Regions from separate parts of the Homo sapiens genome. Here all the other regions are linked to region 4. Evidence: promoter capture Hi-C in 16 types of primary human blood cells and fetal thymus (Javierre and others, 2016). All regions are on one chromosome and are shown on one strand. The core of a region is centred on a gene start or on the middle of the fragment in contact, and the rest is flanking DNA. Distances in the headings are between cores, read along the strand shown. Region 1 overlaps GJA9 (gap junction protein alpha 9). Region 2 has its middle 80 kb from the start of RRAGC. Region 3 holds the start of RRAGC (Ras related GTP binding C). Region 4 holds the start of POU3F1 (POU class 3 homeobox 1). Region 5 has its middle 43 kb from the start of RRAGC. Region 6 has its middle 60 kb from the start of RRAGC. Region 7 overlaps RRAGC (Ras related GTP binding C).

The links. Contacts are between HindIII fragments. The CHiCAGO score rates a contact against its expected background, and 5 or more counts as called.
Region 1: a contact is called between a fragment that was not itself captured here and the fragment with the promoter of POU3F1 in region 4, in 1 of 17 cell types (M2 macrophages). The highest score is 5.0, in M2 macrophages.
Region 2: a contact is called between a fragment that was not itself captured here and the fragment with the promoter of POU3F1 in region 4, in 1 of 17 cell types (endothelial precursors). The highest score is 5.4, in endothelial precursors.
Region 3: a fragment that was not itself captured here is called in contact with the fragment with the promoter of POU3F1 in region 4 in 9 of 17 cell types (M2 macrophages, megakaryocytes, M0 macrophages and 6 more); the score reaches 11.4 in M2 macrophages.
Region 5: a fragment that was not itself captured here is called in contact with the fragment with the promoter of POU3F1 in region 4 in 9 of 17 cell types (megakaryocytes, endothelial precursors, erythroblasts and 6 more); the score reaches 19.1 in megakaryocytes.
Region 6: a fragment that was not itself captured here is called in contact with the fragment with the promoter of POU3F1 in region 4 in 4 of 17 cell types (M1 macrophages, endothelial precursors, megakaryocytes and 1 more); the score reaches 7.7 in M1 macrophages.
Region 7: a contact is called between a fragment that was not itself captured here and the fragment with the promoter of POU3F1 in region 4, in 8 of 17 cell types (megakaryocytes, M2 macrophages, M0 macrophages and 5 more). The highest score is 14.4, in megakaryocytes.

The regions. Positions count from the first base shown.
Region 1 is chr1:38,875,132-38,878,914 of GRCh38, forward strand. It overlaps GJA9 (gap junction protein alpha 9), which reads right to left. Exons shown (of 2, transcript NM_030772.5): 2 at 1-1,062. The coding sequence starts at 967. RRAGC-DT (RRAGC divergent transcript) reads left to right here. Exons shown (of 2, transcript NR_186075.1): 2 at 810-1,095. All of the region lies in intron 1 of GJA9-MYCBP (GJA9-MYCBP readthrough), which reads right to left. Among named protein-coding and RNA genes, the nearest start is that of MYCBP, 3.7 kb to the left of the region's middle. The HindIII fragment of the contact is 8,897 bases long and covers 1-3,783 here.
Region 2 is chr1:38,777,445-38,781,708 of GRCh38, forward strand. No RefSeq gene overlaps it. Among named protein-coding and RNA genes, the nearest start is that of RRAGC, 80 kb to the right of the region's middle. The HindIII fragment of the contact is 569 bases long and covers 2,569-3,137 here.
Region 3 is chr1:38,855,551-38,859,834 of GRCh38, forward strand. RRAGC (Ras related GTP binding C) reads right to left here and starts at 4,222. Exons shown (of 7, transcript NM_022157.4): 1 at 3,860-4,222; 2 at 1,329-1,532; 3 at 158-357. The coding sequence starts at 4,096. RefSeq lists a silencer at 3,752-4,284 and an enhancer at 4,147-4,284. The HindIII fragment of the contact is 1,043 bases long and covers 844-1,886 here.
Region 4 is chr1:38,044,913-38,048,726 of GRCh38, forward strand. It overlaps POU3F1 (POU class 3 homeobox 1), which reads right to left and starts at 1,881. Exons shown (of 1, transcript NM_002699.4): 1 at 1-1,881. The coding sequence starts at 1,831. The coding sequence ends at 476. MIR3659HG (MIR3659 host gene) reads left to right here and starts at 2,222. Exons shown (of 5, transcript NR_168386.1): 1 at 2,222-2,702. RefSeq lists a silencer at 1,942-2,271 and enhancers at 2,184-2,684, 2,685-3,185. The HindIII fragment of the contact is 4,132 bases long and covers 1-3,814 here.
Region 5 is chr1:38,815,085-38,819,179 of GRCh38, forward strand. No RefSeq gene overlaps it. Among named protein-coding and RNA genes, the nearest start is that of RRAGC, 43 kb to the right of the region's middle. RefSeq lists enhancers at 1-50, 781-1,282, 1,283-1,782 and a silencer at 3,160-3,389. The HindIII fragment of the contact is 1,353 bases long and covers 2,005-3,357 here.
Region 6 is chr1:38,797,879-38,801,940 of GRCh38, forward strand. No RefSeq gene overlaps it. Among named protein-coding and RNA genes, the nearest start is that of RRAGC, 60 kb to the right of the region's middle. The HindIII fragment of the contact is 542 bases long and covers 1,880-2,421 here.
Region 7 is chr1:38,837,584-38,841,891 of GRCh38, forward strand. RRAGC (Ras related GTP binding C) reads right to left here. Exons shown (of 7, transcript NM_022157.4): 7 at 615-2,121. The coding sequence ends at 1,970. Among named protein-coding and RNA genes, the nearest start is that of RRAGC, 20 kb to the right of the region's middle. The HindIII fragment of the contact is 1,074 bases long and covers 2,499-3,572 here.

The DNA of each region.
Region 1 (3,783 bases), core at 474-2,973, 830 kb after region 4:
CCAAAATGCATTTCTCATCATTTACACTATGATTGTCAGGATTTGGCTGGAATACAGAAGATGAATTTAAACTAGGGTACACTGCAGTGTGTGTTTGCTTTTCCACTAACAGATTATAATCAGGGGCAGAAGGGAGTCGCTTCAGTGAATTTGCAGATGTGCTCTGGTATTTGGCTACATTTTGTTTTGCCTTGTTTGCATGGAATTCATTATGTTCCTTCTTCAACTTGTATTTTCCCCAAAGCCCTCTTTTAATCTTTTTAAAACCTAGGTGGAAAATTTCAAGAATGTTTAAGAAAAGTGAAATAGTGGCTATAGATTGCATAAATAATAGGAATATTGTCTTTTCTGTTGGTCTTGAGACAAAACAGTCGATTATATTTGGACACGGGTGGCCATGGCACTTAAATAGCGGCTCTAAGTGAAATCCATATAAAAGGTACTGTCCAATCATGAATCCAACTTCAACCACAGAGCGAGTGAAAATGTGTATCACATAAGTGCAAAGCAAGGTTCCTCTGAGTGGAGCTTTATTTAGTTTCCTTTTCTCCAGCTGACAAAGCTCTTGCTCCAATCTCCTCCGATCCCTAGGCATTTCAAACTCTACCTCCTCCAGTTCTACTCTTAACTGAGCTTTCATCCTTTGCCTCTCTTCCTCAAGAACTCTCAGTCGGTACAATGCATGGCCCATGTAGACCAGGGATGGTGAAGACACAAATATCACCTGCAGAACCCAGTATCTAATGAGGGAGATAGGAAAGGCCTGGTCGTAGCATACATTTCTGCAGCCTGGTTGTTCTGTATTGCAGATGAAGCCAGACTGCTCATCATTCCAGACATCTTCAGCTGCTACACCCAGAACAAGCATTCGAAATATGAACAGGATGGTGAGCCAGATCTTTCCAATCATGGTGGAGTGGATGTGAACTTCCTCCAGAGTATCTCCAAGGAGATTCCAGTCCCCCATGTTTATTTAGTCAGCCATCTTAGCTCTGATCCACATCAAATAAGAGGCAGATAAATTCTTCCATTCTGAAGGGAGCACTATTTCTTAAAGCAAACCTATGGTGAAAATATAACAATATGTCACTTCTATATGCTGGTTGCTTTACTTTTTCCCTAGATAGCTGTGGGGTTTTTTCTTTGTTTGTTTGTTTGTTGAGACAGAGTCTCCCTCTGTTGCCCAGGCTGGAGTACAGTGTTGCAACCACAACTCCCTGCAGCCTCAACCTCCCAGACTCAAGCGATCATCTCCCCTCTCAGCCTCCTGAGTAGCTGGGACTGCAGGTGTGTGCAACTACACCCAGATAATTTTTTTTATTTTTTTGTAGAGACAGGGTCTCACTCTATTGCTGCAGCTAGTCTTAAACTCCTAGACTCAAGTGATCCTCTTGCCTTCACCTCCCAAAGTGTGGGAATTACAGGTGTGGGTCACCACACCTGGCCAAAGTGTGAATCTGTTACCAATAATATACTTAAATGTCAGGAATTTAAAATCACTTATATTTAGACATCACAATACAATGAAAAAAACATGATACCTGGAGGAGGAGTGTATATATTCTCTATTAAGAATATAGGCTGGGCGGGGTGGCTCACACCTGTAATCCCAACACTTTGGGAGGCCAAGGTGGGTGGATCATTTGAGGTCAGGAGTTCCAGACCAGCCTGGCCAACATGGTAAAACCCCGCCTCTACTAAAAATACAAAAATTAGCCAGGCGTGGTGGCAGGCGCTTGTAGTCCCAGCTACTCGGGAGGCTGAGGCAAGAGAATCGCTTGAACCTGGAAGGCAGAGGTTGCAGTGAGCTGAGATCAAACCCTTGACCTCAGATGATCTGGCCACCTCGGCCTCCCAAAGTGCTGGGATTACAGGCATGAGCCAATGCGCATGGCCTAAAATTATATTCTTTTTTTTTTTTTTTTTGAGACGGAGTCTCACTCTGTAGCCCAGGCTGGAGTGCAATGGCATGATCTCAGCTCACCGCAACCTCCACCTCCTGGGTTCAAGCGATTCTCCTGCCTCAGCCTCCTGAGTAGCTGTGATTACAGGCATGCACCACCATGCCCGGATAATTTTGTATTTTTAGTAGAGATGATGTTTCTCCATGTTGGCCAGGCTGGTCTCGAACTCCTGACCTCAGGTGATCTGCCCACCTCGGCCTCCCAAAGTGCTGGGATTACAGGCGTGAGCCACCATGCCCAGCCTATTGTTGTTTTTCAACAGAACTTTTGGAAAGGTTTCTAAAACTAGTAACCTGATCTTAACCTTATTTATTAAGATTATTTGATATAAAAGTTATAACAAAGTCAATTTCTTTTTCCCCAACATGCCATTACTGGCTTGAAAAGTCAGTGATTTTTTTTTCTTTCTTTCTTTCTTTTGGGACAGAGTCTTGCTCTGTCGCCAGGCTGGAGTGCAGTGGCGCAATCTCGGCGCATTGCAACCTCCGCCTCCTGGGTTCAAGCGATTCCCCTGCCTCATCCTCCTGAGTAGCTGGGATTACAGGCGCCTGCCAACACCCCCCGGGATAATTTTTTGTATTTTAGTAGACACGGGGTTTCACCATGTTGGCCAGGATGATCTCGATCTCCTGACCTCGTGATCCACCCGCCTCAGCCTCCCAAAGTGCCAGGATTACAGGCATGAGCCACCGTGCCCGGTCAAAAAGTCAGTGATTTTTAAATCTCATTTATACACATAGGAAAACGAATATGCTTCATTTGATAATTCAGTAAGATATGGCATTCAGTGAAACCAGAGGAAACAGATCTGGCTGTCATAGGAATTTAGATTAGTTTTTTTAATCCAAATTGAAATAAATTTGAAATAAATTCTGGTTTCTTCCTGGCAATTGGTGAACATTTTCAGAAATTCATCTCAGTAATATTTATGAATATGTATAAAGTACTTATTATACTTTACTATGAAAAAGTATACTTTTTTTCTTTTTTTTTGGTGGGGGGAGACAGAGTCTCACTCTGTTGCCCAGACTAGAGTGCAGTGGCAGGATCTCAGCCCACTGCAACCTCCACTTCCCAGGTTCAAGTGATTCTCGTGCCTGAGCCTGCCAAGTAGCTGAGACTACAGGCAAGTGCCACCACGCTTGGCTAATTTTTGTATTGTTAGTAGAGACGGGGTTTCACCATGTTGGCCAGGCTGGTCTTGAACTCCTGAACCTTGAGTGATCCACCCGCCTCGGCCTCCCATAGTAAGCCACCGCGCCCAGCCCAAATTTTGTAAATTCTTACGTTAAAATGAACTTCAAGCCCAGCACAGTGGCTCACACCTGTAATCCCAGCACTTTGGGAGGCCGATGCGGATCACCTGAGGTCAGGAGTTCGAGACCAGCCTGGCCAACATGGTGAAACACTGTCTCTACAAAAATACAAAAAATTAGCTGGGTGTGGTGGCAGGCATCTGTAACCCCAGCTACTCAGGAGGCTGAGGCAGGAGAATCACTTGAACCTGGGAGGCAGAGGTTGCGGTGAGCCAAGATCGCGCCATTGCACTCCAGCCTTGGCGACAAGAGCAGAAACTCTGTCTCAGAAAACAAAAAGAACTCCAAAAATTCTCAACTATTTTATGGTACCAGAATCTTTTTTTTTTTTTTTTTTTTGAGACGAAGTTTCCCTCTTGTTGCCCAGGCTGGAGTGCAATGGCACAATCTCGGCTCACCGCAACCTCCACCTCCCAGGTTCAAGTGATTCTCCTGCCCCAGGCTCCAGAGTAGCTGGTATTACAGACATGCGCCACCATGCCCAGCTAATTTTGTATTTTTAG
Region 2 (4,264 bases), core at 1,603-4,102, 730 kb after region 4:
GTGAGACCCTGTCACAAAAAAAAAAAAAAAAAAAAAGAGTCATGAGGGAAGCACAGAATCTTGAGTCATACAAACTCTAGAGGCTTAAGTTCTTGCTCTGCCACTTCCTGCCCATGTTCCTGAGCACATCTCATCATCTCCCTGGACCTTATTTTCTTCATCTGTAAAATGGGGTTAAAAGCAATACTTCCTCCAGAGAGTGATTGTAAAGATTAAATGAGACAAGTTATACAGAAAGCCAAGCACACAATAAACCCTCCAGTAAACGTTGGCTCCTCTTATCAGTGTACACATTTGCAGTGACAAAACTGCACAGAAGTGGCGACCTATTTTATAACCCTATCTCCAGGCTTAGTCTCTGGAGCTCAGAGAGGCTCGCTGTTGGGAATGGCATGATGCGCTAAGGGTGGAAGGTTCATTGGCTGAGCACGCTACTGTCCCTCAATAAAGATGAAGACAGAGATGAGGTCATCGACAGCCACTGAAAAATGCAGGGCAATGGGCAGGACTGAAGCCAAACTCTCCGAGTATTAATGGCTAATTGCATATTGAGTTGGGGAAGTGTTTTAGGAAAAAAAAAAAAACTTTCATCAATTTTTCTTCTGGGACAGTTTTAGGAATCACTGAAGAATAAGCTGCTCAATAGCTCTTAAGTGTGTTCGAAAGGGTGCTAGGCTAGGAGTGAGGACACTTGGATTCTTGTCCTGGACCTTCCAGCAGCTTGCTTTGGGACCTGCCCTGTTCTAACCTCCGCCTCAGTCACCTCTGAAGTGCCTCTGAGCCTCTGTGGCAGGTTGTATAGCATGGTGGCTGAATGGCAGCCTTTAGACCCCAAAGACCTGAGTTCAAGTTCCAGCTCTGCTACTTAGAAACTATTACCCTCTGCAAGTCCTTTAACCCCCTCTAAGCAAGACTAGAGTTTATTTTATGTGAATTGGAGATTCTAATTGTACTTACTTCACAGGACCTACCTACCTCTGTTCTCCCACCAGCTCTTCTGAGGATTAAACGAGGTAATTACACAAAGCTCTTAATGGGTTCAGCACAGGAGCACTCAAGAAGTGGTAGCTGTTGTGCTTATTTTGATTTGATAATTCTCTTGACATTGTTGATGGCAGTGACACCTGGGGAAAGCCCACGCAGACCATACATTTGACAGAGATGCATAAATCCTTCCAAACAGGCATGTCACCATGCAGAGGATGGTGAAGGCTTCTGTCCCAGGGCTTGATGGTGTTCTGCTTCATTCTGCTTCAAAATCTCTTTGAACCAGTCAAGCACCTTATCAAGGCCTTTAGCTCTAAACCTCAGTGGTGTTAAGTGCACTTTGTTACTTAACTGATGATTTCTATCCCCAGCAGGGGCTGACTTAACCTCAGAAAGAAAGAAATGTGCTGGTAGGTAGTGTTTGGGAAAGTGACAAGCTGTACTTTGTATCCAATCCTAATTTTTAAGTTTCTTTTTTTTTTTTTTTTGAGACGGAGTCTCACTCTGTCGCCCAGGCTGGAGCGTATGGCACAATCTCGGCTCACTGCAAGCTCTGCCTCCCGGGTTCACACCATTCTCCTGGCTCAGCCTCCCGAGTAGCTGGGACTACAGGCACCCACCACCACGCCTGGCTAATTTTTTGTATTTTTGGTAAAGACGGGGTTTCACCATGTTAGCCAGATGGTCTCGATCTCCTGACCTCATGATCCACCCACCTCAGCCTCCCAAAGTGCTGGGATTACAGGTGTGAGCCACCGCAACCGGCTGAAGTTTCTTTTTTAAAAGAAAAAAGAACTATTGCTCTTCCAGTGATTAAAATCCTGGGCTAGAGAATCAAACAGACTTGGATTTACATCTGGGCTCTCCAGCGCTCACTATCCAAGACCAAGGGTGAGTTTTTCATCCTCTAAAGCTCAGTTGTCTCCTTTGTAAAATGGGGATTAGAAATACCTCCTATCTCTTGGGGCTGCTGCTGCAATTAAGTATGTTGATACAGGTAAAGCTCTTGGTACAGTATCTAGCATCCAGTAACTGCTCGATAAGGGTGTGGTATGATTATTATTTTATTATTATTATCACCAAGGAAAACTAGTGGGGAGTTAAATTGGCAAACAAGCTGTTAAGAGGCCGTGAATATTCATTAGACAATCTAGTGTTTATCCAGTTGGTAGATGTTAGCCCAGCATAGACAATCTAAGTGGCTGCTGAATGGCTCAGACACACCACGGAGAGGTTTGATCCACTCACGCTGGTCCAGATTAACAGAATCCTAGCCTCCCTCCCAGCCCTGCCCTTTCTCCACTTGCTGAGTGACCATTCAAGTTCCTTCCCTTCTCTAGACGTCAATTTCCTCGCCTATCAGAGGCAAGGATTAGACTGGAGAGTCTTTAAATGTCTAAATCCCTATACTTTTAGGATTCCCATGAATTTGTAAGCAATTGTTGCCTAACCATGTCCCTAATTAAGTCTTTCATGGTTATTTTAATTAGCCACCTTTAAACCTTAAAGTAGGTTTGGGGAGAAATGATGTATTTAAATTTATTTATACTCTGCCTTGGAACTTCTTGTGGACACAACACAAGCTTAGGGACAGACAGCCTGGGCCTAGGTCCCAGGTCTGCCACTTTCTAAGTGTACAGCCCTGGGAAGCTCAGTCTTCCTCTCCTGGCCTCAGTCTTCCCCTCCTGGGAAATGGAAATGGCAGCTTCCCCACTGAGTGATTGCAAAGATTACAGGGGAGAAGACTAGCTCAGAGGAGGGCAAAGGACCTAAGCCAGTCCACTTGGAGTGTCTCTCAGGGCTTTTGCCAGCAAGGTGGGAGCAGACACTCACTCTGCTCTACTAGATATGCACCTGGGTGTTTGCTCAGCATCTCTGACCACCCACGAGGGTAGGATCTGCCTGATAATAGAATCAGCACAGAGGAAGCAGAGAATGAAACCAAACCTGAGGACAATGATGGAGCCCCAGGGCTCATACATGACGTCTCATATCACCTGAGACAAAACGCTTTTTTTTCTTCACAAAGAAAAGTTAAGTGAGATTTTATTTTTTCCAACGCAGTTATCACCTTCTAATATAAATTCATAATAAATTTATGAATGTATTATGTTTATTGCTCACTGTCTATCTCTCTTCACTACAATGGAAGCTTCATGAGAGTAGAGGTTTTTGTCCCTTTTGTTCACTGATACATCCCTAGCAGCCAACACAGTGCCTGACACATAGTAGATACTCAATAAATATCTGTTTTTATTTGTTTTTGTTTTTGTTATTTTTTTAGAGACTGGGTCTCGCTATGTTGCCCAAGCTGGTCTTGAACTCCTGGGCTCAAGCAATCCTCCTGCCGCAGCCTCCCAAAGTGCTGGGATTACAGGTGTGAGCCACCATGCCCAGCCTCAATAAATATCTGTTGAATGAATGGATGAAGATACTTTGAAATCTGGAGAGTGCTGCAAATGTCTTTAATAATAGCTATAGATACTTTCTCATAATTTTTTTTCATGTGCTGTTTGGATTTGCCATTTAGCTGATAACCTGAGACCAATCCAGACGCTCCTCAGACCTAAGACAGTGGCTAACCTTCACTGCCTCATCTCAAAAGGCAAAACATGGCAACAGGTAACTGGGTCTTTGCATTTGGAGGTCCCACCCTCTTAGAGGCTGATCCTAAAGTGCTGGGGATCTCAGGATCTTACCCGTGACTCTTTTCTCTTCTCATTCCTCATGCTGTCCCGCAGTGAGCCCATCCTCTCCCAGGGTTTTAAGTACCTCTCCTTATGCTGAAGCATCCCGGGCTTCTTTCTCCAGCCTTGACTGCCAGAACCAGATCCCAAGCTGCTTGCCTGACTTTTCCACTTGGCTGAACTGCACACAAACCCAGAAGAAAATGAGAACACAAGGCCCCTGATAAAAAAAAATGTATTAAGAATTTCAAGATGGTGATAGAAGAGCATACAAACACACTCAGAGCCCTCCTGAGCACAGGGCGACCACCCGGGTCACACACCCATGAAGCTGGCCTGGACTGCAGGCACTTCACACTCAACATGTCTGAAATTTTCATCTTCCTCCCACCCCAACATGCTCCTCCTCATAAGTTCCTCATCTTAAAGCACAGCCTCCCCATCCATCCAGTTACTCAAGTTAGACAGCAGGACCTCACTCGGTTGCGATTACTAAAGCCTGTGCCTCTCCTTGACGTCTTTTGCTCCCTGAACCCAGGTCATACCTGTAACAGCCTTCTAATCACACACTGCCTCCTGTCTCACATCCA
Region 3 (4,284 bases), core at 115-2,614, 810 kb after region 4:
TCCCCAGACAGCCTGGAATTCAACAACAAGATCAAAAACATAAAAGATGTGGCAAAGGGCACACAGGTAGCAGAAAGCTATGGTGTTTGTAATGACAGAGATGGGAATACATTTACACCTTGTTCAGGGCTTTCATATCAAACACACATGTTGTTACCTAAGATGGAGTTTTTCTAGCCCAGCATCTGCAAGGTCATCATTGGCCCTTTGATGAATGTCCCTCTGTGTTTCTATTTTGTGATCATCAGACAGACCATCAACTTTGTGAATAAAAACCTCAAAATTCATGTCTGGGTTAACTTTGTAGGCTTTAGAAACAGTAATGTGAAGTCTTGTTAAAGCCTCCATGTAGTCATCCTGTAAGTCAGAACAAAATATTTTTTAAAATAAATCTTACAAAAGCCAAGTAATGAGTTAAAGCCTCAAACCACCTCTTTCCCCAACCACAGAAAAATACTATCCTAATTATCATCAATATTCAAACATTCAAATATACTATACTACTAAATAACTCTTCAATTGTCTCAAGATAAAAAAATTCAATTACCAAGTTAATGCTTGTAATTTTTAATATTAATTTAAGAAAGAAAAAAATGATATGAACATTTTTTCCCAACATAATTTTTTTAAGTAATCCCAGCTCTGCCATTTATTCAGTGTGTCACTTTAAGCAAGCTGCTTAAACTCTGATCTCAGTTTTCTCATCTGTAAGATCAGAATTACAATACCTACCTAACAATATTGTGAAGCTTAAATTAATTAGGTCCTGTACGTGAAGGCACCCTCTGTAGAGCCTATCACTCAGAAAGCATTCTTAACTAATGCTTAAGCTTATAAAAAGTAAGCTTCTTAAAGGATAGGGACTTGCCCCATTCATCTCACTGACTGCCACATGCTAGGCCCTCCATAAATGTTTGTTGAGCTAAACTCAATTTTGACAATTAAGTAAACTATTCACTCTAATATCTACTGACTCAGTTCTCATATTCCTCTTTATGTTATGGGATGGGATATTTTCAGGGAATAACATCACTATTATTATAAAATTATTATAAAATATGGCAACCAATAAAAGTGGAAAGCCAATGTTAGCTGCTCATCAACTAGGACTCAAGGATGTAAACCATATCTCCTAATCATCTGATATTCTGTACCTGCACAATGCATGTCTGCTCCCAAAGCACTCTGCAACTGCATCTCTTACACTGTTAGGGAATCTACTGCCAAAGAGATAAGCTGCAACCACATGACAAAGAAGATAAACAACTTTCCTTTGTTTCTACATCTTTTTCCCACCAGGAAAGAGGAGTAAACACATTACTGACTACCTGTGCGTCAATGACGTATATCAATGCTCCTGTTCCCCTGAAGATCATCTCATAGTCAAAGGTTGGGTCAAAAAAGTCCATTTGCCCAGGAAAATCCCATATCTGGAAATTCACAAAGGAGCTATTGGAAATGTCATCCTTATAAATCTTGTTGGTACTTTCCAAAAAGAGGGTCTCGTTGGGTGACATCTTATGAAACACCACCTGTTAAAAGAAAACAGGCAATTTTATGACTATTAAACTTCAGAATTTAAATTTAAAATTCCACCCTGGTTTAACATTTAAACATTTGATCCCACAAAAAAAAATTTTTTTTGAAAAGTAGAAACTGAATGGTGAATCCATTGGTATTCACTATCCCTTTATTTTTGACAAAAGAAGACACCAAATTAATTTCCATTAAATCTATTTTGGAGCTAAATCTTTTCTCCTATGTTCTATGCACCATACTCAGTACTAATAGTAGCAATCTCTATCACCTCCATTAGTTTTTCTGGGGGAAAGCTAACATTAATTCTACCAAAATCTGCTTTAAGATTATAAAAGTCTTACAGCTAAAGCTTAAGAAGTCTGGTTTATTCAAAAATTACTTGAATGCCTACCTCAGGCTCTGAGGAGTAATTTAAAAAGTGAAACAGACTGGACTCTGCCCTCACTGACTTTGCAGTCTAAGAAGGGCAGTAACTATACCAAGTAGAAAGTGAAAACGTCCAGGGGGAGGCCACGGGGACTGACAGGGAAAAGATAGCTCTCATGAGAAAAGAAACGTAAAGGCAATTGTTAAGAGTCACAATAATCGGCCCGGGTGCGGTGGCTCACGCCTTCAATCCCAGCACTTTAGGCGGCCGAGGCGGGCGGATCACTTGAGGTCAGGAGTTCGAGACCAGCCTGACCAATATGGTGAAACCCCATCCCCACTAAAAATACCAAAATTAGTCGGGCGTGGTGGTGCACGCCTGTAGTCCCAGCTACTTGGGAAGCTGAGGCAGGAGAATCACTTGAACCCAGGAGGTGGAGGCTGCAGTGAGTGAAGATCACACCACTGCCCTCCAGCCTGGGCGATGAGCAAGACTCCATAACAAACAAACAAAAAAAAAAGGATCACAATAATCACAACCTACACAGTTCTAACATAAAACTACTTTGCCTCTTACTGTCTAGAAGAGAAAAGTGAACAATTACTCTCAAGGTTTTCTCAGTAACAAATGTGAATAACTGAAATTAGTTTACTAAAAACCTACAGTCAACGTACCCAAGTTTTGCTGTAGAGGTGAAAATCAAGGTAAATAAAACACAGTACTCCAGCAAACCTGGAAGAACGCTGCTTTTTAAAAAGATCCCATCTACAAAATATCACAGATTCAGAAAGAAAAAAAAATCACAGATTTATTTTGGATAGGCCTTTGCAACAGAGTGGAGAGGTGAAAAGACCAGGTGCCTGCTGATACTAGTTTTATTACCAGCTCACTCCGCGTATAATGGGTTTGGCTGATGGAGGAAGTCAACCTTGCCTCTATTTAACCCTCACTAAACAGTGTAGGCCAGCGTGGTGACTCACACCTGTAATCCCAGCACTTTGGGAGGCCAAGGCGGATGATCACTTGAGGTCAGCAGTTCGAGATGACCCTGGCCAACATGGTGAAACCCCGTCTCTACTAAAAATACAATAATTAGCCGGGCGTGGTGGCGCGCGCCTGTAATCCCAGCTATTCGGGAGGCTGAGGCGGGAGAATTACTTGAACCAGGGAGGTGGAGGTTGCAGTGAGCCGAGATTGCACCACTGCATTCTCCAGCCTGGGCGACAGAGCGAGAGACTCCGTCTCAAAAACATAAACAAACAAACGTGTACAGCCCTCCATTTGTTCATGAAGGCCCAAAAGTGAAAACAAACAGACTAGGTCTGCAAAATATTCTCAAAGTCTCAGATTTTTAAAAACACACCCCTACAGGGGGAACAGCACCAGTAATTACATTCACCAGGCCACAACTACTGAAATGGGTGCAATCTCACTACCCAATTCCCAGTAATGCTACAGCGAAGTCTCCTTCACATCAGTAGCGAGAATTACAACGCCCAGTGTCTTAGTCACAACTCTTCCTGACGCTGCTCCCTGGGGCTCTGCTGGGAATCCCGAAACACTCAGGTCACCTGAAGTGAGAACAAATCAAAACGGGCCAGGGGAGGGAGTCCACGAAGTTCTCCAAGTGAGAACTGGAGAGTACGTCTCAGTTTCGTAAATGACACAGGAGCTGGGTCCCAGGGGGCGGAGGTCTTGGGCGGTGCCACCGGGCACCTGCCTCCCGGCAACCAGTTTCGCCTTCAGCGCTCCACTTGGCTTCAGCTGACTTGGGCGTGGACACAGAGGTCGGGGTCCCCGCGCGGGCCGCGCCTGTGCGCTCGCAAGAGTGGAAGAGAAAGTGCGGAGGGACGGAGCGCAGGCGGGCCCCGGCCGCCGCCCTCCCGGGCGTCCCCGCTACCGGCCACCTGAGAACCGGGGAGGGGGCGGGGGACTGGGCGCAGCCCTGCTCACCTTCTGGATGGAGGACTTGCCGCTGCGCCGGAGTCCCATGAGCAGAATCCTCGGCTTGGAGCTGTCAGCGCCCCCCGGACCACAGCCACCGCCTGCCCCTGCCCCAACCCCTCCGCCCGCCGCCGCCGCCTCCTCTTCCTCCTCCTCCACGCCGTAGCCGAAGTCCTTTGGAAACGAATCGGCCGCGCCGTAACTGCCGGCGAGGGGCGTCTCCTCCGCCCCGTACTGCAGGGACATGGTGCTGGAGCCGCCGCCGCCCGCGCCCTGACAGGCCAGGCCAGGCCGAGCCAGGCCGCCGCCTCCCCAGTCCGCCTCCGCCGCCGCCGCCACCACCGCCACCGCCCCCGGCAGCCGCCACAGTCCGGCCCGCCCCCCGGAGCCCGGCTCTCATAGGCCCCGAGCCGAAGCCCAGCCGCTTATTGGCC
Region 4 (3,814 bases), core at 631-3,130:
AAGTGACAGCCCCCCACCCTGGACCCGCAGGCTCAGGAGTCCACGCGGGGAGAGGGGATGGAGAACTCTCCTCGCTTCGTCCTCTCTCCCGGGGAATCCCTAACCCCGCACTGCGTTACCTGTCGCTTTGGGGAGGCCGCTGCCGGGATCCGGCCCCGAACAGCCCGGGGGGGCAGGGGCGGGGGTCGTCGAGGGGATGGGGGCAGAGAGCAGGCGGCGGGCAGGATGCCCGGGGTGAGTTGGCGAGTTCCGGATCTTCGCTCCTCTCTCCCGGGGCTCGGGCGACGCAGCCTACCGGGCTGTCTTCGCCGCTCACCGGAGAGGGTCGTCCGGGTGTTTGGTTTTGTTCGAAAGTTTCTGGGCTTTTTTTTTTTTTTGTAAAATCCAAAGCAACCGAACAAAAAGAGTCCAGGCCGCGCGGGCGGGCTGCGCGCCCGCGCCCTGCAGCGCGCCGGCGGGGGCCCGGCCCGCGGGGTCACTGCACTGAGCCGGGCAGTGTGTGGTGGTGGTGGTGGTGCAGCGCCGCCGGCGGGGGCGGTGGGGGCGCGGAGGGTGGCGATGCGCCGCCCCCGCCAGGCCCTAGCTCCCCAGGCGCGTATACATCGTCCATGGGCGGGTGGCCCGCGCCGGCCGCAGGGGTCATGCGCTTCTCCTTCTGCCGCCGGTTGCAGAACCAGACGCGCACCACCTCCTTCTCCAGCTGCAGGCTGTCTGCCAAGCCGGTGATCTCGTGCGCCGAGGGCTTGGGGCACTTGAGAAAGTGGCTCTCGAGCGCGCCTTTGACCCCCACCTCGATGGACGTGCGCTTCTTGCGCTTGCGGCCCTGCGCCGCGATCTTGTCCAGGTTGGTGGGGCTGCCGCTGGACGAGTCGGTCTCCTCCAGCCACTTGTTGAGCAGCGGCTTGAGCTTGCACATGTTCTTGAAGCTCAGCTGCAGGGCCTCGAAGCGGCAGATGGTGGTCTGCGAGAACACGTTACCGTAGAGCGTGCCCAGCGCCAGCCCCACGTCGGCCTGCGTAAAGCCCAGCTTGATGCGCCGCTGCTTGAACTGCTTGGCGAACTGCTCCAGGTCGTCCGAGCTGGGCGCATCCTCGTCCGAGTGCTCGCCCACCGATGAGCCGCCGCCGCCCGCGCCCGGGTGCAGGTGCGCCGCCGCCGCGTGCAGGCCGCCCGCGTGTGCATGTCCGTGTGCGTGTCCGTGGGCGCCCAGATGCGGCGGCGGCGACGGCTCCAGCTGCGCCTCGTGGCCATCCTCGTGCAGCGCGTGGTGCAGGCCCGGCCCCGCGCCGCCACCGCCCGCCGCCAGCATCCCGGCCAGGCCGCCGCCGCCGCCCCCCGGGTAGGCCGCCTGCGCGTACAGCCCGAGCGGCTGGGGCTGGTGGCCCCCGCTGGCCCCGGGCGAGGGCGACATGGCCGGGCCCAAGTGGTGCGCTGTGCTGCCCTGCGCCCATGCCGCGCCCGCGTGGGCCGCCCCCTGGTGCACCAGGCGCGCGTGGAAACCTCCGCCGCCGCCGCCGTCGTCGGCTCGGCCGGTGCCGCCGCCGCCTGCCTTGCCGTGTTCTAGGTGCGGGCCGCCGGCCCAATCGCCGCCGCCGCCTCCTCCCGTGGGTAGCCACTGGGGGTGCGCTAGGCCCACGGGGTGGCCCGCGCCCGCGCCCAGCCACTCGTGGTGCATCAGCTTCTGCACTTCGCGGTACGCGGCCCCTGCATGCAATCGCTCCGCGGCCGCCGCCGCCGCCGCCGCCGCCGCGGCGTCCGGGTGCATAAGCGGCCCGGTGCCCCCGGCTCCGCCACCGGGGCCCCGCGGCAGGTACTGCGCGGTGGTGGCCATGCCGCCCCGCGCCCTGCGCCGCGCCGCCGCCGCCGCTCCGCTCCGTCTGCGGGCCCCGCCGCCTCGCTCCGCCGGCTTAAAGCCCCGACCCGCTCGGCGCTCCGGAGCCCCACCCCGCCCGCCGCCCATTGGCTGCCCGCGGAGCTGCCTCCCGCCTCCCCTGCCCGGCCCCCGCCCCGCGCGCCCGCCCGCCACCCTGCCCGGCCGCCCAGAGCTCTCCATTGGGCGTCGCTCCCGGGGTCCCGCGCGCCGGCCGTGCTGATTGGCCGCTGGGGCTTCATTCACGGCCCCCCTACCGTCCGCGTACACACTCACGCCCCGGGGGCGCGGCCGCCACGTGGGGAGTGGCGCGGGGGTGGCCCTGGGACCGCACCCCCTCTCGTCCTGGCTGTGTGGGCCCCGCTTTCCCCCAGCGCTGGAGACTCCGAGCCCGGCCGGTCCCACATTCCACGCGAGCTGAATTCCCGCCCGCATCCCGCCCGGGCAGCAGGGATTGCCGGCTCCGGGAGGCGCTCGGGCTCCGAGAAGCGGCTCAGCCCCGCGCCCCTCCCTCCTCAGTACCGCTGCCGGCGGACCAGGATTCCCGCGGGTCCTGGCGGCTGCGAGCGCGAGGCGGCGCGGATTCGCGGCTCGGTTCCGGCGCGACTGCTCACCGCGCCCGCCTCGCCTCCCGCGGCTGCCAGCGTGCACTGGGCGCTCCTCGGCGCGTCTGCCCGGCCCGTCTCGGCTTTCCTTCTCCTTCCTCTAGTCCCAGCGTCACAACTCCGCCGACCTCCTCTGCCCTGAGAGCGCGTCCGGTGCGGGCGGAGTCGGACGGACTCTGGCTTCACGCCTCGCGCGGGCACACCTTCTCCCGGGCACTGAGGCCCAGGTGAGTACCGCGCGGGCAGCTGGGGCTGGGACGGCGGGCGGCAGCGGTTCTACAGTCCTACGCGAGCCCCTGGTACCCGGCCGCGCTCCGGGGTTCCAGAAGGAGAAGATCTCGAGGTGGAGACTGTGGCTCCGGGGAAAACGCTGCTGGCAAGGGCGCTAGTTGGGGGTGGACGTTGGGCCCAGGGGTATCTGACCTGCGCCGCTGCAGCCTTCTCGCTCCTTCTCCCAGCTTGAACGGCTCATCGGCTGTGGTCGTGGTGGGATCACGCCCCGGGAGAGGAGAAGGATGGGCTCAGGGAAGGGGCTCGGGCTCTCCAGAAATCCGGCGTGCAGGCCGGGAGCTGTCCAGCCTCGCTAAGAGCCCTGGGCTAGAGTTTGCCCGGACTTGCCTGGAGCTGCTGAAAAGGGAATTGAGATTGAGGAGGCCTTGTTGGAAAGGTGGGCAGTGGAATTTAGCTACCTCCTCACGCCCCAGCCCTTGAGGACTCCCTGAAGGATCTTGAGTGGAGTCGGACCTCACTGCAGTTCCTTTGTGCCTTCTTACCCGACCTTGGGCCCCAGGCTGAGGGTACTGAGCTGTGTTTTCTCCTCTTCCCCACACCGAGGCTTGGGTCCCAGGGAGTCTTCAGCTGCCAGTCCTCCCTCTTTTCTCTCCTGGATCTAGCCTCAAGTGGATTTATAGCTTACAGGGCCCTGGGGTCCCAGATCACAGAACTGAGCTGGGGGCCCACCTAGGGCCCCACTGGGCAAATCAGGTCTGTGGAATAAATCCTTAGATTGAAAAAAGTTGCTGGGGGCTCAGGTGGCAGCTGCCATTGGAACGATCCAGGGCGGCTGGGACAGAGTTGACAGTGACAGGGGTCACCCTGGGCACAGACTTTGATCATGTGGGCCCTGAATGCCCTAGGACCAGCCAGGGAAGGAGTGGGACAGAGCAGGGCCCTTATCCTGCCATTGGCCACTGTCCTGAGCAGGCTCCGTGGTCCCACCCTAGCTGTAAGAGCTGCGATGGAGCTCTGTGTCTGAACCGAGCTAGAGATACTGGGCTTTCCTGGACTCTGGCCCAGGGAATGGTCACCTTGAGGCAGCCCAGGTCTTTCACCTTTCCCA
Region 5 (4,095 bases), core at 1,431-3,930, 770 kb after region 4:
AAAAGAGAGAGAGAGAGAAAGAAGCAGCAAAACCAAACCAAACATCAACTCATTGTAAAACTGTAACAGAGTTTTAAAGGGTGTTTCCCCAAACTACAAATATGCTTTTCAACAAGATAACTGTAGGTTTCTGTAGCAATAGAGCAGACCAATTAAGTGCAAGGCTTTGAATCAAAAGGACTTGGGCTGAGTTCTGCCTCTGTCTCTTTCCAGCTGTGTCACTTCAGCAAGTTAATTAATCTCTCTGACCCTCAGTTTCTTCCACTGTAAAATGGGAATAACAGTAACACCTATTTTACAAGACTGATCTGAAGATTAAACGAAATAATAGAGATAAAGTACACAGTATCTGACACATACTAGGTGCCCAAGAAAAATGTAAACTGCTGCACATTATTATTTTCATCATCGTTATTGTTGGTGAGGTCATTTTTAAGCACCTTGGCCCCCAGAAGCAGAAGCATCCACAAGTCCTGCACTGAAGTCACAGCTGAGACTTGGTTTTCATCAAGAACTAAACTCAATGATCCCCTGACATGAGGCAAACTGCAAAATCAAGGCCCCTTCTGGTGGGGGCAGGGGGGTTCTCCTCCCCAACCCTCACTCCCCACACCCAGGTTTTGATTGCAGAATTCCCAGCTACGGAACACTTACTGAGAACATTTTGGAGTAGAAAGAAAAGAAAGACAAAATAGAACCTTATTCCCGTACTTAACGGATTAACTACAGCCCTCAATTAATGGAATTCTAAAATGTAACATCTTTTAAAGAAGAAATGACCCAATACCTACCCTCTGATCTCTGTCTTCGTCATGAGTAAATTGTTCCCTAACCCAAGTGCCACCCTCAGAAGACTCGGGTGAATCCTGGTACCTCCTAAGCCTCAGGGAGACACGCTTGGGTTTGCGGTAAAAGGGCGGAGCGGAGCCCAGAGGAGGCGACAGATGTTTGTGCGAGATTGTCACAGATCGGGGTGAAACTGAAAAGGACGGTCTCATTAACCCGAAATAACCAGCCAGGCTAACTGACCCAGAGCTCATACTCTCCGAGCACTGGGGGACATGGGAGTTTGCTGAAGCCTCTGCGCCAGGTGTGGGAGTCTGAGCGCGCACCCTGCAGAGCTGTGCAGGCGCTCCCCCGCCTGAGCAGACAGCCATCCATCACTCCAGGAGAGGCAGCGGTGGGGACGTGAACTCGGTCACCTCCTCCCCCTCGCTCCTCCCCGGCAGGCTCTGAGGAGCCGAGGCGGTGGCAGCAGCGCGAGGAACAGAACACGCTGCAAACTGCTTGGCTACCCCTTTACAAGACTGACGCCGCCGACACAAGTTTTTCCATTTCCCCAAACAGCCTCTCCGGCTGCCAATAAAGACGGCTGCTCTAGGCCCTTGCGTGCTGTCAAAGGGGTACTTCTCCAGCGGCTTCAGAGGCGGCTTGTTCGCCCAGAGCTGGAGCTGCAGGCCCCTAGAGAGAGCCACCTTCCCCCTTGGGCTGTTGGTGGGCTCCCTGCGACCCTGGCCAATTGCATGGCTGTGTGGAATAATTACCGGGTAATTAGATGGCAGGCATGATAGGTGCCGGGTACTGGTTTCCAAGGGGACTTCGAAAAGGTATTCTGCCGCCCTATGCCTCCTCCCAGTACAAGGCACAGTTAATGCCTCAGATCCCACACCGCCTCTCTCGTGGAAGTGTGCTCTGAGCCACTGGGGCCTAAGCCGAGTTGACAGGCTCCATTAGAGAGCGACTCTGTCATGGAAATTGTGATCTTAACAGAGGGACATGTGGCAGATACCAATTCCACTCACATCCTTGTACTACGTGGCTTTCCCAGGGGGCTACTGATGGGATCAAGGGATGTTCACACCACCAGTCCCCAACTGCCTTCATCTGACCTGACCTGTACGGCCCAGACCGGGGAAGACAAGGCCTGGAGAGCCATCCTGAGGAACAACACCCTTCAGTGCCCAACTCTACTCCTAGGACCTAATGGCCCATGCACTCGGACAAAGCTTCAGATGATTTTCAAAAGCAATGCAAAGTATAGAACTTTGCAAGGACTTTGGGATCTAGAGGATGTCTTTTGAGAAGGCCTGGCAGCAACAAGAGTCCTGGACTGGGAAAGCTGGATGCCCCAAGTGACCTTGGCAAAGGCCTTCCCCCTCTAGGCCTCAGTGTCCCCACCTCCAAGGGCCAAGACAAAGTCCAATTTCTCAGAATCTGAAGCACAGTTCAGGTCTGTTGCTGCCCAGTGCACAAAGATGACCTGTAGGCCAGGTCAAATTCACAAAATTGAGCCCCTTCCTCCTAGAAAAGAAAGAAGCCACATCCAGAGAAGAAGCATGAATAGAGAAGGGAGGTGAGAGGGTCCTTTGTAGACCTCCCCTGCACGTCAGGCAGATCCCAGCACTGTAATGTCAGACCTTAAAGGCAGAGAACCTACCACTCTGAGGCCCAAAGAAAGGGGCCAATGAAACGAACCTATGAATTCATATCGGTGCACACTCCAGAGACAACAGGACTGATCCCAGTCCCCTGAGTCCCACCTCCCCTCTGATGTAGGGAAGGCACGGTTTGCCCAGCACCACCACCTCCTCTGCCCACACAGATGTCTCTCTCCGATGAGGCCCAAATCATCCGTGTGCCAACCTCCGAGACATGCCAATCTCTGCTCGCCCACAGGTGCCGCCGCGGGGATGGGCGGGTGCCTCCACCTGCCATTGTGGGTTCTGGGTGGAGGTCGCTGGGGCTGAGGCAGGCAGGGACCGGCCCGCGGCCTCTCCCAGCTAGGGAGAGACTCCACATGCCTAGGTCTGGAGCAGGAGAGGGGAGATAGGTAGAAGGCTTGACCATGGGTCACGTCTAAAGGGACCGGATCAGGACACAGTCAGGCGGCCTCCTGCCGCGGATTTCACCCCACGCGGTCTCGCCCCGACCGTCCCCGGGCCCTGTGCGCGCGGCCGGCATTGCCCAAGAGGGGCTGAAGGCGCCCCCGCCCGGCGGAGCCTACCCCAACACGGAGCCCAGAGCGCCACGCCTCGGACCCCGCTCCGGGTAAGCCCGGAGCAAGCCCCCGCTCCGTTCCGGACAGGGGAGCCTGGGCTGCTTTCTGGAACTCTTTCCTTGCTTTGGTCACTGGGGCCCCGGAAGCGTGGGCTAGGGTGCCAGCGACAGCGCCTTCCGCGGAGCGGCGCGCTGGCCCCTCCGGACCCTGGGTGGGCGGCCGCCCGCCCGCCTCGGAGACCAAGGCTGCCATCTAGCGGCCACGCGGGGCGCCGTCGGGGACCGGAGCCGGGCCGAGCGCTGGGGGCTCCCGGGTCCGCGGCTGCGCGGCGGGGTTCCCAGACCCGGGACTTAGGCGCAAGCTTCAGAGCGAGCTGTGTGACCCTGGGCACGCCCAGCCCTCTTTGATCAACCGTCCTTTCTCGGTAAAACCGAGAGGATACAACTCCTCTGCTCGGGGTCGTCGGGAAACGCAGGACCGAGGGACGGCGCCCCCTCCTTCCCGAGACCACCCGCCCCATCCACTCCGCACCGCACTCCCGTCCAGGGAAGTCTTAAGGAACCCAGTCCCCCTAGACGAGAGGTGGAAGGAGGCGCTGGGGAAATCCTGCAAAGCAGGAATCCGCACTGAACAGCAGGATCCTTTTCCAGGAATTGTAAACCCAGAATTGTAAATAAAATGCTAATGATTTATTCGTGCTCAAACGCCGGGGGCTGCGTCGCCGCTTTTGAAGACAGCTCCAAGCGTGGCTTTCCAGGAAGGCAGGCCTCCCCGCGGCGCCTTCCAGGGCTCCCCGGGGCCTCCTCCCTGGCCGCGGGTCCGGGCTGGGGGACAGGCAGTGGTTCTTGTTGGAGCGCTCCCAACCCGTCCTTCACTGAGACCCGGGTGGTGGTGGAGGAGGTCTTTTTCCTTCCATCCACAGCCGAGTCAGACCCCTCAGCATTCACCCATCATGCATGCAACCAATGCTTCCCCATCGCCAAATACCTACTAAACCCTTAGCTGACCATTGGCAGTCAAAAAACAATCGTGAGAATCACATCTGGTGGGGAAGATTGACTCGATGAATAATCCTACAAATAAACGCGTGCTTCTAA
Region 6 (4,062 bases), core at 901-3,400, 750 kb after region 4:
CTCAGGTGATCCACCTGCCTTGGCCTCTCAAAGTGCTGGGATTACAGGCATGAGCCACTGCACCCAGCCTGCTGCAGCTTCTTTGAAGGACAAATTGGCAGTAAGTTTCACCTTTTCCAACTTACGTGTCCTTCAACACAGCAATTTTACTGATAAGAATATTTCCTACAGATATGATCACATACATGTGCAAAAAGTATGTACAAGGATGTTTGATGCAGCTTTTTTATGTGATCACCAGAAAAATGAAAAGAAGGAAAACCTGAAAAACCTAAACATTCATCAATAAGATAATTAAATACATAAGAGGTATAATGAATATTGTATAAAAGACCCTGGCAAGACACACATATAAAAGCAAATGCATGAGGAACCCCCGACAGGGAAGCCAGCGGTGGAAGCAAGACTTCTCAATGCATTCATGTTTCTACTACTTTGATCTTTGAATTTTTGAATGTACATGCATATCTCAGAGATATTGCAGGTTTGGTTCCAGACCACCACAATAAAGCAAATATTACAATAAAGCAAATACTGCAATAAAACAAGTTGCACCAATTTTTTGGTTTCTCGGTGCATATCAAAGCTATGTTTACACTATCCTGTAGTCTATTAAGTGCAATAGGATTATGTCTATAAAACCAATGTCTAAACCTTAATTTTAAAATGGTTTGTTGCTAAAAAATGCTCGTGATCACCTGAGCCTTCAGCGAGTCGTCATCTTTTTGCTGGTGGAGGGTCTTGCCTCCATGCTGATGGCTGCTGACTGATTAGGGTGGTGGTTGCTGAAGGTTGGGTAGCTTTGGTAGTTTCTTAAAATAAGACAACAATGAAGTTTGCTGCATCTATTGACTCTTCCTTTCATGAAAGACTTCACTGTAGCATGTGATGCCATTTGATAGCATTTTGCCTACAGACGAACTTCTTTCAAAATTGGACTTAGTCCTCTCAAACCCTGCTGCTGCTTTATCAACTAAGTTTATCTGATATTCTAAATCTTTTGTCATCATTTCAACAATGTTCACAGCAACTTCACCAGCAGTAAATTCCATCTCAAGAAACCAAGAAATTATAAATGCTTGAGGTGATAGATACATTTACCCTTATGTGATTATTACACATTGTATACCTGTATCAAAATATCTCATATACCTCATAAATATATATACCTACTATGTATCCACAGCAGTTAAAAATAAAATTTTTAGAAAAGAAACCACTTTATTTGTTCATCCATAAGAAGCAACTCACCATTCATTAAAATTTTATCGTGAAATTGCAACAATGCAGCTACATCTTCAGGCTCTGTTTCTAATTCTAGTTCTCCTGCTGTTTCCACCACACCTGCAGTTACTTCCTCCACTGAAGTCTTGAAATCCTCAAAGTCATCCATGAGTGTTGGAATCAACTTCTTCCAAACTCACATTGATGTTAATATTTTGATCTCCTCCCATGAGTCACACACAAATGTTCTTAACAGCATCTAGAATGGTGAATCCTTTCCAGAAGGTTTTCAATTTACTTTGCCCAAATATACTGGGGAAATCACTATCTATGGCAGCATTCATCTCCTTGTATATTTCCATCAGAGCTCTTGAGTATCTAGGTGCATTGCTGGTTGGCATAATAATTTGAAAGGAATCTTTTTCTGAGCAGTAGGTCTCAATGATGGGCTTAAAATAGTCAGTAAACCACATGCTATAAACAGATGTGCTGTCATAAATAGAAAACATTTGTTTTGCTATTTCTAGAGCACAGGCAGAGTACATTTAGTAACTTTTAAGGGTCTTTGGATCTTTGGAAAGGTAAATGAGCATTGGCTTCCACTTAAAGTCGCCAACTGCATTAGCCCCTTGTAACAAGACAGTCTGTACTCGGAAGCTTTGATCCCACGCATTGACTTCTCTCTAGTTTTGAAAGTCCTATATGACAGCCTCTTCCAATAGAATGCTGTTTTGTCTACATTGAAAATCTGTTGCTTAGCATAGCTATCTTCATCAATTATCTTAGCTGCATCTTCTGGATAACTTACTGCAGCTTCTAACATCAGCACTTGCTTCACCTTGCACTTTAACGTTATGGAGAGAACTCCTTCCCTTAAACCTCATGAACCAACTTCTGCTAGCTTCTAACTTTTTTTCTGCAGCTTCCTCACCTCTCTCAGCCTTCACTGAATTGAAGAGGATTAGGGCCTTGCTCTGGATTAGGCTTTGGCTTAAGAAAATGTTGTGGCTGGTTTGATCTTCTACCCAAACCACGCCAACTTTCTGTGTGTCAGCAATAAGGCTGATTTATCATTCATGGAGTAGCACTTTTAATTTCCTCCAAGAACTTTTCCTTTGCACTTGCAACTTTGTCAACTGTTTAGACAAGAGGCCTAGCTTTTGACCTGTTTTGCCCTTTGACCTGCCTTCCTCACTAAGCTTAATCATTTCTAGCTTTTAATTTAAAGTGAGAAATGTGAGACTCTTCCTTTCACTTGAACATTTACAGGCCATTGTAGGGTTATTAATTGGCCTAATTTCTATATTTTCATATCTCAGGGGGTAAGAAGGCCCAAGGAGAGAGAGAGAGAGAGACCAGGGGATAGCTGGTTGGTGGAGGAATCAGAACACACACATTATTGGATTAGGTTCACAGTTCATAGTACCCCAAAACAATTATAATAGTAACATCAAAGATCACTGGTTACAGATTGCCATAACAGATATAATAATCATGAAAATTTTGAAACGTTGTAAGAATTACCAAAATGTGACACAGAGACACAAAGTGAGCACATGTTGGAAAAATGGTGCTGATAGACTTGCTCAACACAGGGTTGCCACAAACCTTCAATTTGTTAAAAAAAAAAAAAATGCATTTTCTGTGAAAGTGCAATAAAGCAAAGTGCAATAAAAGCTGGGGCAGGAGCTCCCCAGGTGCAGCTACAGCCATGCAAGCCACAGCTGCAGAACCCAGGCATCCCTGTGTTCTCAGGGCTTGGGAACAGGCGGGATCCCTGCCCTCCTGGGCACAGCTGCAGCTGCCCAAGTAGTGGCTATGGACCCAGGCCTCCCTGTGCTCTTGTTGGGGCTGGGAGCAAGCAGGAGCCCCACCTTCCCAAGCGCAGCTGTAGCTGCCCAAATGGAGACTGCAGACCCCGGCGTCTCTGCACTCTTAGGAGCCCAGGAAGGACCCCTCTGCTCTCACAGGCTTGGAAGTGCCTGTTCCCACTGCTTGGCTTCTCCCTGCTGTCAGTGCCCGCCCCAATCTCTGAGCAAAGTCGGGGTCGAGCTAGGGCGCTGTCGCAGCCTGGCCAGGTGTGCACACATTCAGGGCAATGCTGACATGCCAGCCCCCCTGCCGCCTCAGCCCGCTCCAGTCTGGGTATTGATGAGCACAGGAAGGAAGCCAAGGGGGTCCTGAGGGCAGCTTGATGCTGGCCTGTAGGTGACCCTTGGCACCTATAGTCTGGATGCCATGAATGGCAGAGAGGCAGATAGGTTCCTGGGTGGAAGGGGTGGATCCCCAGTGAGGCCCCACCTTCAGGCCAGGGAAGGCCTGAAGGCTGGGAGCTGGGCTACCAGTCCCGGGGACCAGGGAAACAGACTGGAAACTTGCGGTGCCTTTTCTGGGCCTGCCCATGGTGACCCATGGACCAATCGGCATGCATTTCCTTCCCTCTGAGGCCCATCGAAGCCCTAGGCTCAGCCAGAGCTGAGCAGACTTCCTGACCACCAGCTGCAGAGAGGAGCTACCCATTCCACAGCCTCCTCTCTGCTGACAGCTGGGCAGACATCGGGACTACCAGTTGCAGAGAGGAGCAACCCACACCAGGGCCTCCTCTCTGCTGGGAGCTGGGGAGACAATGGGAGTATCTGCCTACAGAGAGGAGCAACCCACTCTAGGGCCCCCTTTCTGCTGAGAGCTGCAGAGATGACAGGACGACCTGCCTGCAGAGAGGAGCTTCCCACTCTAGGGTCTCCTCTCTGATAGGAGCTGAATACTCGTTGGGACACCCTGGCTGTGGAAAAGAGCTACCCACTGAGGGTCTCCTCTGAGCTGTTCTATCACTCAATA
Region 7 (4,308 bases), core at 1,786-4,285, 790 kb after region 4:
GAGTTTTTTCAAGCTGTTTCTGTGATTTCCATTTCAGAATTAAAACAGCTTCTAAAGTAGTCCAATTACAAAATTTAAAGATCTTTCAATCTGTCTTCCTCCCACTGATAAACTAATGTCTATTTTTCTCTGATTAGTTTAGACCCAACCTGTTTGTATAGACAAACAATTATTTAACTGACATTTAAGAGTGAGTCAATGAGTATGTCAGCAACTGGAGGAAACAGAAAACAAGCTGGAATCGGTACAATTGTTTAAGTGTGTTTTACTTCACTCATCTCCTCACTCCTTCTTAGGTTGGATTAACACATTAATGATGCCAGGACCAGGATACTCCCCACCATGTGTGAGATTTGTGTATATGAAACACCCAACCAAAAACATTTTCACCTGAGCTTAGATTTACTACCCTAGAGCAGAAATGGGCCAGGGGAGATACCTAGACACAAGGCCATGAAATTCCCACATCGGGATAGAACCTGAAGCTCTGACACATAAGAAACATTAACCACAGGAAGCAGCAAAAGAAAAAGAAATGGATGAGAAAACGGCAAAGTGGGACAACCCAACGTTCCGCCACCACCCTCCATACCTCAGGCAAGGAGAAACGCTGATTTTGGAGTAAATACATTTATTGATACCCATTTCATATATAGTTCAATGAAATAATCTATAAATATAAAAAGCATTTTTCTTTTGGATATCACCATGGTCCATGTAAATACTCAAGTCAGAATCACCTGCAGGAAGCACTCCAAGTCACACTGTTAGCTTTACAGACCTGAATATACATATTGCATTAAACAGTGGCACTTATGTACTCAAGTGGTCCAGTGGCTTTGGAATATATGTCTACTGGGCATGTGGAATAGAAATAATGTGTTAGGTTTAAATCAATGGAAAGGGTATCAACCATCAACAAAAGCAACAATTATGAATTCATATCCTAGGCAAAGAAAGTACCACAGTTGACACTTGGTGTCAGAATACTAGAGACAAAGTATGTAAAACAATGCCTGTTGCAGCACCACGTGCTCACTCCAACTCCCAGTGGACAGTCCCCCAATGCCTTAGGGTCACTCGTGGTCAACCAAATGCAATCAAGAAGCTCGATAGCTTAGAATAAAAGGTCTGTAGAGGCTGATATCAAGATTAAAGTAAGCTAAACATTTCAGTGACACAATGAGTTTCTCCCCTAGAAGGGGACTGTGGGAAAACTTTTAATTCCCTTTGTTACACTGAGCATGATCATTTATCTAATGCAGAAGAAAGAACCCAGACATCTGGTACTCAGAACATAGGTGCAAAAATTTTCTTCCATTTCAAAGTTTTTTCAATACTTCCGAGGGAACTAATGCAACCACCGTTGAGCCTTGCTCTCCACCTGATGCAGCATAAAATTTTCTCTCATTTCTTCAATATAGGAATGTCTTGCTGCAGACTATGTGTCTTCCGAGTTAGCAAGCAAATGCATTTAAAAGGTCTTAGTTGTGCAATGTCCAAAACTGAAATCTGAGAGGCAGTGTTAGAACTTAAGCAAGGCAGAATTTTTAGAGTCTACTCAAATGAAAGCCTAAGTGAAGCATATAAAAATTCAGTCTTTTCTATTATTTTCAACTGGAATTGATGGCAACATTCCCTGGTAAGGATGGGTAACTGGTGTTATCTCCAGGTCCAAAATATCCCAACTACTTAAAGGGGACCCAAAAGAGGAGAAACACACACTTGAGTTCTGTGGTCTCCAGAATTTTTTTTTTTTTTTTTTGCCATTTTCAAAAAAGATATAGTAGCTTCAGTTGTACACCACCAGTTGAAGGGGTTTTCATCCAAATGAGAAACTCTACCCCTTGTCTCTAGTGGAACAGGCACCAGATTCCCACAAGCAGCAGCTCCCATGTCCTGTAGCACGTGGCATCCGACCCTGGAGTGAAGAGTAAGCTGGCACAGAGCCCCGACGCTGGGATTCAGACTAGATGGCGTTTCGTGGCGTGCCATTGTGTGTCAGCGCTTTCAGACTGGAGGCACTAGTCTGGTGACCACAGCTCCTGTGAGAAGTCACACCCACCTCAAAAACCTCATGAATAGCTTTTCGGAAACAGTGGAAGTTGTAGTCTATTAAACCTGCAGGAAGGAAAAAGAAAAGAATGCCTCCTGAATTGTCAATTGTGAAATTTTATATTTGGGTTTGCAGCCAAAAATAACTCGGATAAACACTGGTTGGAAATTCTTAAGCCTCCAAACTAGATAGCAACTTCTTCAATCGTAAGAACAGCTGGTCATCGGTCAGGTGCAGTGGCTCACGCCTGTAACCCCAGCACTTTGGGAGGCCGAGGCGGGCAGATCACAAGGTCAGGAGATCAAGACCATCCTGGCTAACACGGTGAAACCCCGTCTCTACTAAAAATACAAAAAAAATTAGCCGGGCATGGTGGCGGGCACCTGTAGTACCAGCTACTCAGGAGGCTGAGGCAAGAGAATGGCGTGAACCTGGGAGGCAAAGCTTGCAGTGAGCCAAGATTGCACCATTGCATTCCAGCCTGGGTGACAGAGCGAGACTCCAACTCAAAAAAAAAAAAAAAAAAAGAACAGCTGGTCATCATATATATCCACCATCATAACGTTCTGCTAGAAAACAAATGCGATTGCAATTAGACCATCACCTTGGCCAAATTAATACCTCTGGCATCCAAGTTTCAAATCACTCAATTCACATTCAAGAAAAGTAAAATATTCAAATACACTGTGTGGCCTGCTTGAACATAGTGTGATCTTTCAATAGTTTATATTTGATTTGATGAAAGTCAGTAAATACTTATTACACAGCACGATAGAGGGTACAATATGTCAAAGGAAACAGCAGATATGGTCCATGACTTCCAGACAGGATATGCTAGCTGAGGCATAAAGCCAAAATACAAGAAACAAACCAAAACAATCTGGTGTCAAATTGACTACAACTGTGAAGGAAATCCAAAGAAAAAGCCAAGTGCAGGGCAAAGTAATCAACTGAAAACTTCAGGGACAAGAAAGAACTTGGGGAATACAGACACGATTTAATTAGGCAGAAAAGGGGAACAAAATCACAAGAAAACTGCAGGGACCTGGCCATGAGAATACAGCACAGGTGGAAGACAGGAAAAAAAAATGGTCTGACTGGAGAGTGGGACATCAGAGAACTCTTGGTAGGAAATACTAAGAATCAGGTCTGAATAAGTAGGTTACAGCCAAATTAAGGTGGACCTTCAGACTCAGAAAAGAAACAAACTATAAAAGACAAGTTTTGATCAATTCAACTACATTAAAATTTATTTCTGTGCCAAATGTAAAATAAAAGACAATCAAGGAAATTTGAACACTGGCCAGATATTTGATATCATTAAGTCACTGTTAATTTTGTTGTTTATTGTTTTAAAAACCACTACCTTTTAGAGATACCTACTGAAATCTGCAGAGACAAAATGATTTCATGTCAGGCCTTTGCTTCAAAATAATCCAGTAGGGAAAGTGGTATAAATATGAAACATAATTGGCTATAATTTTGATAACTACTGAATCTGGGCAATGGATTAAAAAGCTTTTATTATACTGTTTTCTCTACTTTTTTATATATTTGACAGTTTCCACAATAAAATAAAAAAGCTTAATAATCTATAATAACTGAGAAGCTCTCCAGGAAACATGATTGAAGTGTGTGGGAATGAGGGCTGAACCCAGGAGCTGAATGCATAGGGACTCCTCGTGCTGCTCCACCTTTGTATACACCTGAAAATTTCCATAAACAAAAATTTTTTTTTTTTTTTATAGACAGGGTCTCACTCTGACACCCAGGCTAGAGTGCAGTGGTACAATCATAGCTCACTGTAACCTCAAACTCCTGTGCTCAAGCAATCCCGCCTCAGCCTCCTGAGTAGAGAGGACTATAGGTGCAAGCCACCACACCCAACTAACTTTTTAATTTTTTGGTAGAGACAGTGTCTTGCTATCTTGCCCAAGCTGGTCTTGAACTCCTGAGCTCAAGCGTCCTCCCACCTCAGCCTTCCAAAGCACTGAGATTACAGGTGTGAGCCACCACACCCACTCTAAAAAAAAAAATTTTTTTAAGATTAAAATGGTTAGGAGCCAGGCACAAGTGATGCACACCTGTAATCCCAGCTATGTGAGAGGCTGAGGTGTGAAGACTGCTTGAGCTCAGGAGTTCAAGACCACCCTGAGCAACACAGCAAGATTCCCATCTCAAAATAAAAACACAAATAAAAAAATAAACTAACATAGGCTGGGCGCGGTGGCTCACGCCTATAATCCCAGCGC